Linked DNA regions of Homo sapiens: all the other regions are linked to region 1. The links are contacts of gene promoters, found by promoter capture Hi-C in human tissues and cell types (Jung and others, 2019). All regions are on one chromosome and are shown on one strand. The core of a region is centred on a gene start or on the middle of the fragment in contact, and the rest is flanking DNA. Distances in the headings are between cores, read along the strand shown.

Region 1 (4,309 bases), core at 1,212-3,711:
CCCAGGGCTTGGGTACGAATCATCAACACTTGTTGTGTTTTCCCTCTTGCATGGTTTCAGAGGAATTATAACACACTGATAAGATGCTAATACAAATTTCACCAATAATGCAAAGCACAGATTTACCCATGATCTGTGTGCTGCTTGCATTATGGGCATCATCTTGTCCTACTCCTAAACAAAACTCTGTGAAGTAGATACTATTATTTTCAAGGCATCTGACTCTAAGTTTAGGTTTCTCAACTATACTAGAACTACAAGAGGAAAAGGAAACTGAGTGCTTTTATTATCAATAAAGAGACATACTACAAGGTAAAACTCATACTTTTTTTTCTATCTTGGTGCAGGAAAACAAGTGTGGTCTCAGGTTACTGTATGGAAGTCGAAACGGGGCCAGAGTGCATAAAGCGTTCCCTGTAATTCTTCACCCACGCGTGGGTGGTTTACTGAAGATTCAGTGCAACCCAGACAAATCATTCCCACTGGCCTCTGGGGAAAAAAAATGGGCTTTTTCCCCCCTTTTTCATCTCAGAGAGTTTGGTCAGAGAGTTTCAGAAATATTGGTCATGAGAAAACCAATCAAACACTCTTAGTCGGACATCCACTATGTATTTTTCCGTGTGCTAACAGAGGAAATCTAAACATGATAGAGAGAACGCCTTCTATTTAAAATCCCCAGCAGGGAAGGGCCTCTGAGTCATTGCAGGAAGGGAAGCAAGCCAGTTCTTTCCAGAAATACTCATGATGCCACCTTTATACTGCAAAAGGAATGTATCAGTTCTGGTTATGAGATTCCTGAAACATCCCTAAAAAGACACTGATGCACTTTGCTGATCGTCGAAGGCAGCCCTTGCCAGGGCAGACTCATTAACATAATAAGATTGTATATTTGCCTGGTTAATGGACTCAGTGAAGTTCGCAACAAATATTATAAAAGCCTATGTGTCGTCTGCCTGCATAATCATTCACCCTAAGCAATCAAATTGGCATGAATAGCATCCACACTCTTACTACGGAACTAGGTAATAACAAGAACAAAACTGTCACGTGCAAAAATAGAAATAAGGAAAATGCAGTGAAAGGAGAAACATTTCATTTATGGACAAGGAAGTCTCATAAGTATTTTAGAACAAAGTACATTCTTAATTTCTTTTAAAAAAGCTACAGAGAAGAGCCTGTTATTCAACAGAAATGTCATGAGTAAACCTTTGGGGAAAGAACAGAAAGTAATTAGGAAGACACTTGAGAAAATATACCAGTATATGGATTGTGACTCATCAGCTTGATCAATGTGGTGTCTTATAGAATTGATGACTAAATTAGTGTTGAATGCTCATAGGAGGAAACCAAAAAAAAGAAGCTATATTAAATAAACAAGAAATAGAAAAATGACAGATGCAAAGATTAGTGAAAAGGCCAATAATATAAATAACTAGATCATTATGTTCAGACATATATTTATCACTTAGGATTTATGCGACATCCCTTTATCCTAAAAGTAGTTTCATAAATCACATTGATTTCAGTCATTATAATGTGACAGGTTACGTTTTAGTGAAAAAAAGTTCAAGTTCAAAATGCCGTCAATGACAAAAGATATTTTAAAATTATAAACAAAATATTGACATAAAGGCAACTGAAATATTATGTAGAAATAATATTAAATATTCCAAAGAAAGATATTTATTTTCTGAATGTCTTGAACAGTTCAATGAACGTAGGAGTTCAATCAATATTCTCTAATAAATATATGAATTAATATTTTATGTGATATTTTATTTAGAGCTAACGTTTTATCTATATTCTGCATCTGAAAAAATTAAACTGTTTTTGAAAAATGACCACTTTATTTTTAATATAGTTTCCATGGTTAAGTGTTCACTTTGATTATGAATGAATGCATGTGGAATAAATAAATTGCCATTGGCAAAAAAATTACTTTAGATTGAGATGAATATTTCCCTTTGCAGGAGCCAACCCTAAATAATTCAAAACAAATTTGAATATAGTCCAGTGTTACTTGTCACACTAATATTTTCTTTTACTAATGTCATCAATCTGCTGACTTTTTCCCATTGAGAACTCTAATAATAAAGGAAATTACTTTTCTGTCACATATTCCTTGAAAGTATTTGGAATTTACATAATTTACCATTCTAGTCATCTATTTAAATATCCACAACGGAGGCAAATCCTTACCTTAGAAGATGGAACTGGATAACACCAAAACACATGCATTGTGGACAGCGACAGAACTAGGATGAGATTGAGTTTTACTGAGCTGCAAAGTAGAAAAAAAGTACAATCAAGATTTAGTCTCAAGTAGGCAAGAATAAGTAAAACAGCATATGAAAATGCAACATTTTTCTTTGCAGAAAAACGTAGCCTTTTACCTAATCATTTTGGACTTCCCAAAATCTGTAAAGATAGGTGGTTTTATTGCCAAATTTCTCACACTTACTCTCAGACCCTCATTGGGTGGCCCTTTTATACCAGAAAAGTTCGGGAGTAAAAATGTCATCTCATCCCTCCTATATGACTAATTGTTCTGTCTGTGGCCTTTTGTTCTTGTTAAGAAGAAAAGGACATAACATATGGGCATTGTCATTGAGCTGCCAATGATCGACTTCATTTAAAGTTTGCCATTAAGAATGTCCTTCAAAACCATTGTCTTCGAGACTGAATCATTGTGGCATGGGTGGCCAGAGGTCTCAAAAGGAAACAAAAGGTTTTTTTAGCTTAGAATTTAAACCTTTAAGAAGGATGACATTCTTTCCTTGAATGTCCCAGACATTATGTTTCAGAAACTAACACAAAAGAAATACTTACAGGAATAAAGAACATCTACCCAGCTGGGCACGGTGGCTCACACCTGTAATCCTAGCACTTTGGGAGGCCGAGGCAGGTGGATCACCTGAGGTCAGGAGTTTGAGACCAGCCTGGCCAACATGGTGAAACCCTATCTCCACTAAACATACAAAAATTAGCCAGGCGTGGTAGTGCACACCTGTAATCCAGCTACTTGGGAGGCTGAGGCAGGAGGCAGGAGAATCGCTGGAACCCGGGAGGCAGAGGTGGCAGTGAGCCGAGATTGCCCCACTGCACTCCAGCCTGGGTGACAGAGCCAGACTCTGACTCAAAACAAAACAAAACAAAACAAAAACAAACAAAAAAACACATTTACCCAAACAACTCATGCAGATTATTTACATTTTCTACCTTAGATTTCTTTCCTTTAGGACTTCAGCAGTTAAAGCAGGAAAATAAATGTCACACCTTTTCCGCTAGTCATCGAAATAAAGGAAGGACACTGTGTATCCCCTGTCCATGCCATGTACTCCCAAAAGTCCCACGGGCTCCCAAAGTCCCAGGCCCACAGTTCTGGGAGAGCCTGCTTTTCATGGCTTCCTTTTTCTCCCCAGGGTATGGAATTTCTTCAGGCAGCCTTTGCTGTCCTTGCACTTCAATGGGCATCTGCATTAATAAATGGATTCAGGAGCTCTAAGTATGAACAGATGTTGCTGAGGCTTACAATGGAGAAAAACACCAAGGGAGGTGCTTTCTGCTTGGATAACTAGTGTTTCTGAGATGATGCCAACAGTTTTTGAATACAAAGCAACCAAGGATAATCCGTGCCTCCTCGAGATCAGCACCTTTTGGAGGACAAAGCTGCCCTGTGTCTGGGACAGTTGCTGCCAATTTGTTGGCACTGCATTTCTTTCTTTGGGGAACTGCCATTTGCATGATTTTTATGTAGCTGTCAATCATACAGTCACAGTTTGCCATCACAAGGAAAAGCAGATGACCTGGACTCTCAAGAGAACCAAGCTCACAAGATTAGAGCCAAGTTGAGGGGCTGAGGAAGTGATCCAAACTACTTTGATCAGTGTTCTTATGGGACATAGTGTGGATATTAGGAGACAAAGGGCCTAAGAGCACAAAGGGACTGAACACACATATTTACTTTTGGTTGTTTTAGCTAAAACACACACACACACACACACACACACACACGCAGGAACCCAAAAAGAATGCAGAAGGATTTTATTAAGTGATAAACAATTGATCAAGTGGATCTGAGAAAGGTGCTTACTGAAATACCCCCAAAAGACTCAAGTTATTTTTGCATGTAGTGAAGATGGTACCAAAATGGAGGGTTAAGTGGAAATTTGTTTAAGAATCAACTCAATCAATAGCACATCCTCTCCCAACTTCCCATTGCCAGACACTGTCTACTCTCTAGAATTGGCAGGAGATGACAGGTTTATTATTTTTATTTTTTATTTTTGAGACAGGATCTCCCTCTGTT
Region 2 (4,309 bases), core at 1,291-3,790, 60 kb after region 1:
CTCACAGCTGATCCTCCTCCAAAGCAATGCTGACTCTCTACTGCCTGGCTCAGCAGCTGTTCTCTGCATTGAATCCAGCAGTGTGAAAATGTAAAATCAGGATGCTGGGGTTCTAGTCCCCACTCTGCCACTCGAGCGCAATCTGCATGCATTTTCCTGGGCCTCCATCGTTACTCCTGGTCAAGGGCGTGTCTGTGCAGGCAGCTGAAGTGCACGAAGCCCGATGCCTGCAAACCTCCAGACAGCTTTGCTTTGGCCCTTGCAGTGACTCACGGTAATTAAATCGTATTCTTTTCTCCTAATGAAGGTACAACAGTGATTAAACTGCTAAAAAATTATTTTTTTAAAAAAAAGAGAGTTGGAAATTGCCTTACTTTGCCCCCATTTTTTTCCAATGAAATTTTGAAAACAGTAAAATCATAAGAGACAAATAAAAACTTTGGAACCAAAATTCCCATTACAGTCTCCCAGAGGCTACTTCTTTGTGAATTTCAGACTACTCCGGAGAATTATTTATTCCCCAAAACCAGTTTTTTAAAAAAGGCAAATTCATCTTCAGGTGAGAAAGAGGGGCCATTATAAATACAAATAATGCACTTTGCCCTTAGCTTTTTTTAATAGACACCTCTCATTGTTGAATAATGAAGAAGAGAAGACATAGCTGTGTTTGCAGAACAGGAAGGTACTCGGTAGGGAAAGGGGACTGGGGAGGGGGAGGGAAGAAGGAAAAACTTGTGGCTGCACAGGTGGGCTGCTCAAGGGATGTCTAGGAATAAGCTGTGCTGAAAACTAGAAAAAAAAAAAGTCACCTCCAGTGGTCCATCTGATTTAAGTTGAAGAAGATGGCCTTGAATTTAAATGATAATTGATATAATGCATTTCAGCAGGCATTAACTGTGAGTCTGCTGTGTGCCAGCCCCCGCACCAGGCACGGAGGATACAGGGACGGCTACACCCTCAATGAACTCACCTAAGGGGAGAGAAGATAAACTGTACTACGGGCAGAATCAGAACATCAGGGAAGCCATCGCTGCAATTCATTATGTTAAGAGGTTAAATGAGAAAACCATATGGTCATCTATATGGGTGCCAAAAAAACATTTAGTATGGTCACAATCCACTTCTGATACGAATTCTAAGTATTCCAAGAGTAGAATTAAATTTTCTAAAATTAAGAGTATCTATTAGAAACATCCCACAAGCATCAGACTTAATAACAGATCATTAGACTGTTCTATGCCACTATGTTTTAGGGTGATTTGTTAAATGTACTAGTCTGCTAGGGCTGCAGTATTAAAGTACCAGAAACTGGTGGCTTAAACAACAGGCATTATGGGGAGCCACAGTTCTGGATGCCAGAGTCTGAGATCAAGGTGTTGGCAGGACTGGTTTCTCCTGAGGGCTAGAAGAGATCCTTCTAGGGCTCCCTCCCCAGCTCGTGGGTGGCCGTCTTCAGGCTCACATGGCGTTCTCCCTGCGTGTGTGTCTATGTCTCCTTTTCAGAGCTACTAGTCATATTGGATTACAGCCTACCTTAATGACCTCATCTTAATTTGCTTATCTTTTTGAAGACCTTATTTCCAAATTAGATCACATTCTGAGTTGTTGGGGTTGGGATGTCAACATATGAATTTTAAGAGACACAATTCAACCATAACATCACACAACAATAGATGACTCATACAGTTGGGAACAAGAATAATTGCTATTCTTCAACTTTGCTCTGAAGGCTGTAACTAATATAATAAGGCAAAAACACGAAGCAAAATGTTTATTGCAAAGGAAAAGACAAGATGATCATCATTAGAGGATTACCTCAATGTCTACCCAGAAAAATCTAAGAGCATTTCTAAGAAACATGATTAAAACTCCTTAACAAGAGCATTTCTTAAAATTCCTGCATATAACGTTAAAATCATTTTCAAAGCAACTTTCCTTTATATCAGTAACAACCAATTTGAATATATAATCTTTTTTTTTTTTTTTTTTTTTTTTGTGAGACGGAGTCTCGCTCTGTCGCCCAGGCTGGAGTGCAGTGGCGGGATCTCGGCTCACTGCAAGCTCCGCCTCCCGGGTTCACGCCATTCTCCTGCCTCAGCCTCCCGAGTAGCTGGGACTACAGGCGCCCGCCACTACGCCCGGCTAATTTTTTTTTTTTGTATTTTTAGTAGAGACGGGGTTTCACCGTTTTAGCCGGGATGGTCTCGATCTCCTGACCTCGTGATCTGCCCGCCTTGGCCTCCCAAAGTGCTGGGATTACAGGCGGAGCCACCGCGCCCGGCCTGAATATATAATCTTTAAAACTGTGTTCACAAAAAGACTTGTATATAAATGTTCCTATCAGCTTTATTAACAATATAACAAAACATTATTTCTAATCCAAAACAGAAGCAACTCAATTATGCTTCAATAGTTGAATGTCTAAATAGTGGTATACAGTGATGTTTACATTTGACAGTGTGTACATGCATGGTATATAGATTTTAATATATTAAGTGGAAATATAAAATACATCAAATCTACACTTAGTATGGGTGCATTCATTTTATCGTATGCCGATTAACTTCAAAAAATAACTTTTTAAAATTCCAATTGTGTTAAAGGGATAAATCTAAAAAAAAGAAGACATTAAAATTCCAAAGAAAATTTAGAAGAATATTTTTATAACCTTATGGTAAAAAAATAATTTAGTCAACATGAAAGAGCAAAGCAAAAGCTATAAATTAAATGATTACTATACAAAATAACTGGGTATGTTGGTGGGAGGCTGAGGCAGGACAATCACTTGAACCCAGGAGACAGAGGTTGCATCAGTGAGCTAATATTGCACCACTGCACTCCAGCCTGGGTGACAAAGTGAGACTCCATCTCCAAAAAAAAAAAAAATTTACATTATATAAAACATCGACATGATTTGTATGTCAAAAGACACCAGCAAAAAAGTTTAAAAGCAAACAACAAACTTGGAAAAACTGCAACATATTTGGAAAACAATGGGACTTCATGAAAAACAGTAGTCTAGGGTATGAAGTGAGAAGTGAAAAAACTACTGGGACTCCTGGGACCTCGGAGATCCAAGAACGGGAACGACAAGGATGCCGGACCCATGTGATGTCGAAGCTGCCAGGAAGAGAGGCAAGAGGACAGGCAGGCAGCCAGCACCAGGCGCTCGTGCCCCATCCACACTGGGTAGGAAGCAGTGGGGGCATCCTGTGCTTCTGTGTTTAGTGCAATGCACGCTGATCCCCAGGCTTAGTGGCAGGTGCGATGCAGTCACTGTCCTATCAGCCTACTGTCTTCTCCTCCCTAGGTGAGAGCGGGATTAGGACAAGGATTAACTGGGCCAGTAATTCTTAAACCTTTGGATCTCAGAAGCACTTTACCCTCTCAAAAATGTTTGAAGACCCCCAAATAACTTTTGTTAATGTGGGTTATATCTATTAATGTTATCGTATTAGAAAATAAAACTAAAAATGCTTCTAAATTCTTGATAGAGTTTAAAATAATACTAATAAAGCCATGATGTATTAACATACGCTATTTTATTTTAAAAAATAGCTATTTTTCCCAAAACAAACAAAATATAATGCAAAGAGTGGCGTTGCCACATATCTCTTTAATGTCTGGCTTAGTAGAAGATGGCTGAATCTTCAGAATTAACCTGTTGTGATCTGTGGTTTTGGTTGAAGTATAATAAGAAATTCAGGCCTCATTCAGATATGCTGTTGGAAAAGTATTTTAATAGCCTTTTCCAATCATTGTGGATATTCCTCTTACAGACTACATAAAAACTCAGCAAGTTATAGGTTCTTAAAGTATATTGCAATGTAGAATCAGAAACCCCACCAGGGAATATTTTTTGCTCTGCTACATTAAACTCTTGGTCCATCTTGTGCTTTGAAAGGATCATTTCTCCACATAACAGCAGGCATTGGTCTTTGGAAAATGGCAGGTCACTGTTATGCAGATCTTCCAAATGTTGACACATTTCATTGTACAGGATTAAAAAATCATCTTTGTTAAAATCACCACCTGTGTCATCAGTGAAGTATTTAAGTCAAGGGAGACTGTTAAGCTCATGGTGGCTGAAGGAATGTTCCAAAATTCCAATTTTCACTTGAAAGCTTGAATTTTATCACGGGCAAAAAATAATGTCAGTTGCTTTCCTTGAAGTGACAGGCTTGCTTTGTTCATTTTAAAGAAAATGTCTAGCAAATACCCAAGTCTGAATAGCCATGGTATGTCTGTCAGTCTTTCTTTGAAGCGAAAATGACGGTCCAAGGAAGACGCAGTTCATTCAGCTCAGAAC
Region 3 (4,309 bases), core at 478-2,977, 59 kb before region 1:
CAAACATGACTCTCCCCTCAACCTTGTACTCATTGGCTCCAAAAGTTTAGCTCATGCTATTCCGTCTTCTGGGGGTACCATTTGAATCTACTTTACCAAATCTAACCAACCCTTGAGGACTCAGCTGCTTCAGCACAGACCTGCACATCCTCTACCGGTGTCTCCATTCGGAGCCAGTGCTGAGGAAGCCAGGACAGAGGTTATCCTTCCTTCCATAAGTGGGATTCAGCATGAAGGCAAGACTGTCATGGGAAGAGGAGTGGGGGTGCATATCCAGGCTCCTGGCTCTTCCACACACTCACCTGACGTGACTTGGGCAAGCCACTTGTTCCTTTTGAGTCTTACTTACTTCAAAATGAAAGGAATATCTCCCCTGCATCACAACTTTAGGTTTCTGGGCAAGATCTTCTGTGAGGAAGTTACAAACTTGCAGGTAGCTTTATTCACATAGAGAGTGGTTATTAAGAAATCTTGTATTATTTCATTTTCCTTGTATTAGTCTTTTCTGTCAACTAGTTTGCAAGTTCTTTTTGGGCAGGATCTCTGCTGTAACCCTCTTTGTATGTGCTGATTGTCCAGTAACATGCATGTAATAAGCACACTGTGAATAATTTTCTGAGCCAATCACTGCTTTTGTGGCTCATAAGGGTATATTTCCGCAGGCTGAGACCATTGCATATCATCCCTTCCCCATCTTCAGCAGAGATATCTGTTATTGAGCATTACAGATTAAAATCTCTGCAAACAAAATACAAATCTATAATTGAGTTAATGTTTCATTATTTTACATTGTTTCATTTTAAAAGCAAAGCAATATGAAGTGGCTTTTTAAATTTTATAAAGCAAAATGTGAATAGTCTTTTCTCATCGATAATGGCATCACATTCTCTTTATCACTTGATATCAGGCATATTACTGCTAAAATGGTGGTGATCATATAATGAATTCTGACAGCATGAGTTCAGCAGATTTCACAGAGGCCCATAGCTAGCAACTAATCCCAATTTCAAAAGGTACAGATAGCCATAGGAGATGAGAGCCTAATCAGATTTTCGTAAAATGACTGTTTGAAGAAGGTAGACTGTACATTTCATATTAACCTGTCTCAAAGTATTAAAAACAGCCATGATTTTTATTTCCAACCTTTACCTTTATGACCCATGTGTCATTGGCCTTACCAATCCAAATTTCAGCTCCAACTCCTCAGCTTACTGGCATAAAATTCCCCTTTAAGATTCATATCTTGAAGAGGACAAATTAATTGTGGTATATTTACATAATGAAGTGCTACTCAGCAGTAAAAAGTAATGATCTTTTAATACATGGAATAACATGGGTGAATCTCAAAAATATGTTGCCAAAAAGAAGCAAGGCACAAAATGGTGCTTACTGTATGATTCTATTTATATGAATTTCAAAAACAGGCAAACCTAAGCTATGGTGGGAAAAGCCAGAATTGTGGTCTCCTGAAAGGTGGGGAGGAAGGCGGTGACTTGATAAGAAAGAGCACAGGGAAATTTTCTAGAGAATGGATCAGAGATGTCTGATATATTGAGCTGGGTGGAGGGCATAATGGGCGCATATGTGTAAAACTGTAACCAGTGCACACTTAAAAAGTAGACATGTTTCTATATGTAAATTATACCCCATAAAGTCCCATTTAAAAAGAAGTATTTCTGCTTCTGAAAAGATGAAGTAGACATACTTTCTCCTATTCTTTTCATAATGTACAACTAAATACCCAGAACATTACACATACATAACAAAAATTTTAAAACTCTAAAATGTGAAGAAAAGAAGGCGGAACAGTGGGAACCCTGAGACCAAGTGAGGCAGGAGATCAGTGGGACTTGTTTTTCAAGCACTGGCCATGACCTGGGTTGTGACCCAGTTAATGGGAGCAGGATCTGGTGGAAACAGGGTACAGGGAGAAAGTTGGCAGAAACCAGCCAATGACTACAAAAGTCACCTCTAGCTGCCCTCACTGCTCGTTAACATAAAGACACTCCCACCAGCACCATGACAGTTTACAAATGCCATGGCAATGCACCTTGGCAATGACCTGAAAGTTACCTTATATGGTTCTAGAAACTCCCTTATCCAGAAAGATTTAAATAACCCTCCACTTAATTAGCATGTAATTAAAAATGGATATAAATATGGCTTCCAACAGCCCATAGACTCTGGGTACTCTGGGTACAGAATGCCTATGGGTTAGCCCTGCTCTGCAAGGAGCAGCACCTCTGCCAGGCACTGCCCCTTCAATAAACTTGCTTTCTCTCACCACCAGCTCACCCTTAAATTCTTTTTAATTCTTTCTTGTGCAAAGCCAAGAACCCTCCCAGGCTAAGCCCCAATTTGTGGGCTAACCTGCCTTGCATCACAAGCAACAACACAGTGGAGGGTTCTTGGGGTTTTCTTTTTGCCTCATATATCCCAAGCTTGGAGCTGAAAAAGCTGGCAACCTGGATGGCCCACACATTGCTGGTAGGAATACCAAATGGCACAGGCACTCTAGAACACACTTCAGTGGCTTCTTAAAATATAAACATGCAAATCCCACATGACCCAGCAGTGCACTTCTGGGCAATTATCTCAGAGAGATGAAGATTTATGTTCACACAAACACCTGTACACGCATGTTTCATAGCCGCTCCATTTGCAGTAACCGAAATGGGAAACAACTTAGATGTCCTTCCACAGTGGATGGTTAAACACACTGGAGTGCATTTGTATCATGGACTACTACTTGGCAAAATAAGAACTATCTGTGCAGCAACCTGGGTTAATCTCCAGAGAATTAGGCTGAGTGAAAAAAAAAAAGCCATCCCAAAAAGTTTACATGCTGCATAAATCCCTTTCTAGAACATTCTTGAAATAACACAATGATAGAAATGGAGAACAGCTTAGTGGTTGCCAGGGGTTAAGGATAAAGCAAGGGCAGGAGGGGGCTGGGTGTGGCTATGAGAGGCAGCAGGAGAGATCCTAGTAGAGACAGAGCCTTTGAATCATCACTGTGTTGATGTCAGTATCCTGGCTGTAATTGTTGTATTAATTAATTGTTAACAGTTTTAAAAGATGCTGCCATTGAAGGGATATAAAAGGCACATAGGTTCCTTCTGAATTATTTCTTATAACTGTGTATGAAGCTACAATGATCTCAAAACAAAAAGTTTAGTTAAGATAGCTTTAAAATTATAGCAGAGGAGGATTTGACTGGAAAGGGGCCTGAAGGAGCTTTCTGGGGTGATGGTAACCTTTTATACTTTGATAGGGACTTGGGTTACACAGGTGTGTGCAGTTGTCAAAAATCAGCAAATGGCCACTTAGCCTTTGTGCACATTGTCTGTAAATTTTACACTAAAAACTAAATAAAGTCCAGGCACGGTGGCTCACACCTTGTAATCCCAACACTTTGGGAGGCCGAGATGGGCGGATCACCTGAGGTCAGGAGTTCGAGACCAGTCTGGTCAACATGCTGAAACCCCGTCTCTACTAAAAATACAAAAATTAGCTGGGCGTGGTGGCGCACATCTGTAATCCCAGCCACTTGGGAGGCTGAGGCAGGAGAATTGCTGGAACCCAGGAGGTGGAGGTTGCAGTGAGCCACGATTGCAGCACTGCACTCCAACCTGGGTAACAGGGCAAAACTCCTCTGTCTCAAAAAAAAAAAAAAAAAAAAATTAAGTAAAAGACCCCTCACCCCCAACCTAGATATAGTGGAAAAAATATCATTCATCTTGATCCTCTAGGGAGCTTATGGAGGGGCAGCAGCTTTGCTTTCCCAGTTCCTCCAGTTCTAAACTGAACCCTTGCTGAATTTCTCACATGGTGAACCCTGGGTGGTTCCTTTTCTCCACTGCTCAGCTGGACTCTGTCCTTCCACATGGCTGTGTGTGACTGACCTACCACCCACCAACTTAAAACTGGACACTGGGTATCCCTGTCCTTAAATGTCCCTCAGCCATTGTTGACCCCTGGGAACCTCCACTAGTGGCTTCTACTTGGGCTCTGGTCTTGCATTAAATTTCTGAGCCACTTTAATTCCAGCCCCTCCCTGCCTCATCTTTTGACATCCTCCCTGGCTCCCTGACCCTCCACCCCAACACAATTCTTTTCTTTTTTTTTTTTTTTTTTTTGAGACGGAGTCTTGCTCTGCCGCCCAGGCTGGAGTGCAGTGGCACAATCTTGGCTCACTGCAAGCTCCGCCTCCCGGGTTCATGCCATTCTCCTGCCTCAGCCTCCCGCGTAGCTGGGACCACAGGTGCCCGCCACCACGCCCGGCTAATTTTTTGTATTTTTAGTAGAG

Evidence for each region. The method cuts DNA at HindIII sites, captures the fragments that hold promoters and counts their contacts. A contact is called where the count stands out against the background at its distance.
Region 2: a contact is called between a fragment that was not itself captured here and the fragment with the promoter of NPS in region 1, in 5 of the 25 tissues and cell types used here (hippocampus, mesenchymal stem cells, mesendoderm cells and 2 more).
Region 3: a fragment that was not itself captured here is called in contact with the fragment with the promoter of NPS in region 1 in 3 of the 25 tissues and cell types used here (aorta, ovary and stomach).

What each region holds. Positions count from the first base shown.
Region 1 is chr10:127,547,461-127,551,769 of GRCh38, reverse strand. It overlaps NPS (neuropeptide S), which reads right to left and starts at 2,461. Exons shown (of 3, transcript NM_001030013.2): 1 at 2,394-2,461; 2 at 2,200-2,281. The coding sequence starts at 2,401. The HindIII fragment of the contact is 14,829 bases long and covers 1-4,309 here.
Region 2 is chr10:127,487,380-127,491,688 of GRCh38, reverse strand. No RefSeq gene overlaps it. Among named protein-coding and RNA genes, the nearest start is that of NPS, 60 kb to the left of the region's middle. The HindIII fragment of the contact is 7,769 bases long and covers 1-4,309 here.
Region 3 is chr10:127,605,938-127,610,246 of GRCh38, reverse strand. No RefSeq gene overlaps it. Among named protein-coding and RNA genes, the nearest start is that of NPS, 59 kb to the right of the region's middle. The HindIII fragment of the contact is 6,724 bases long and covers 1-4,309 here.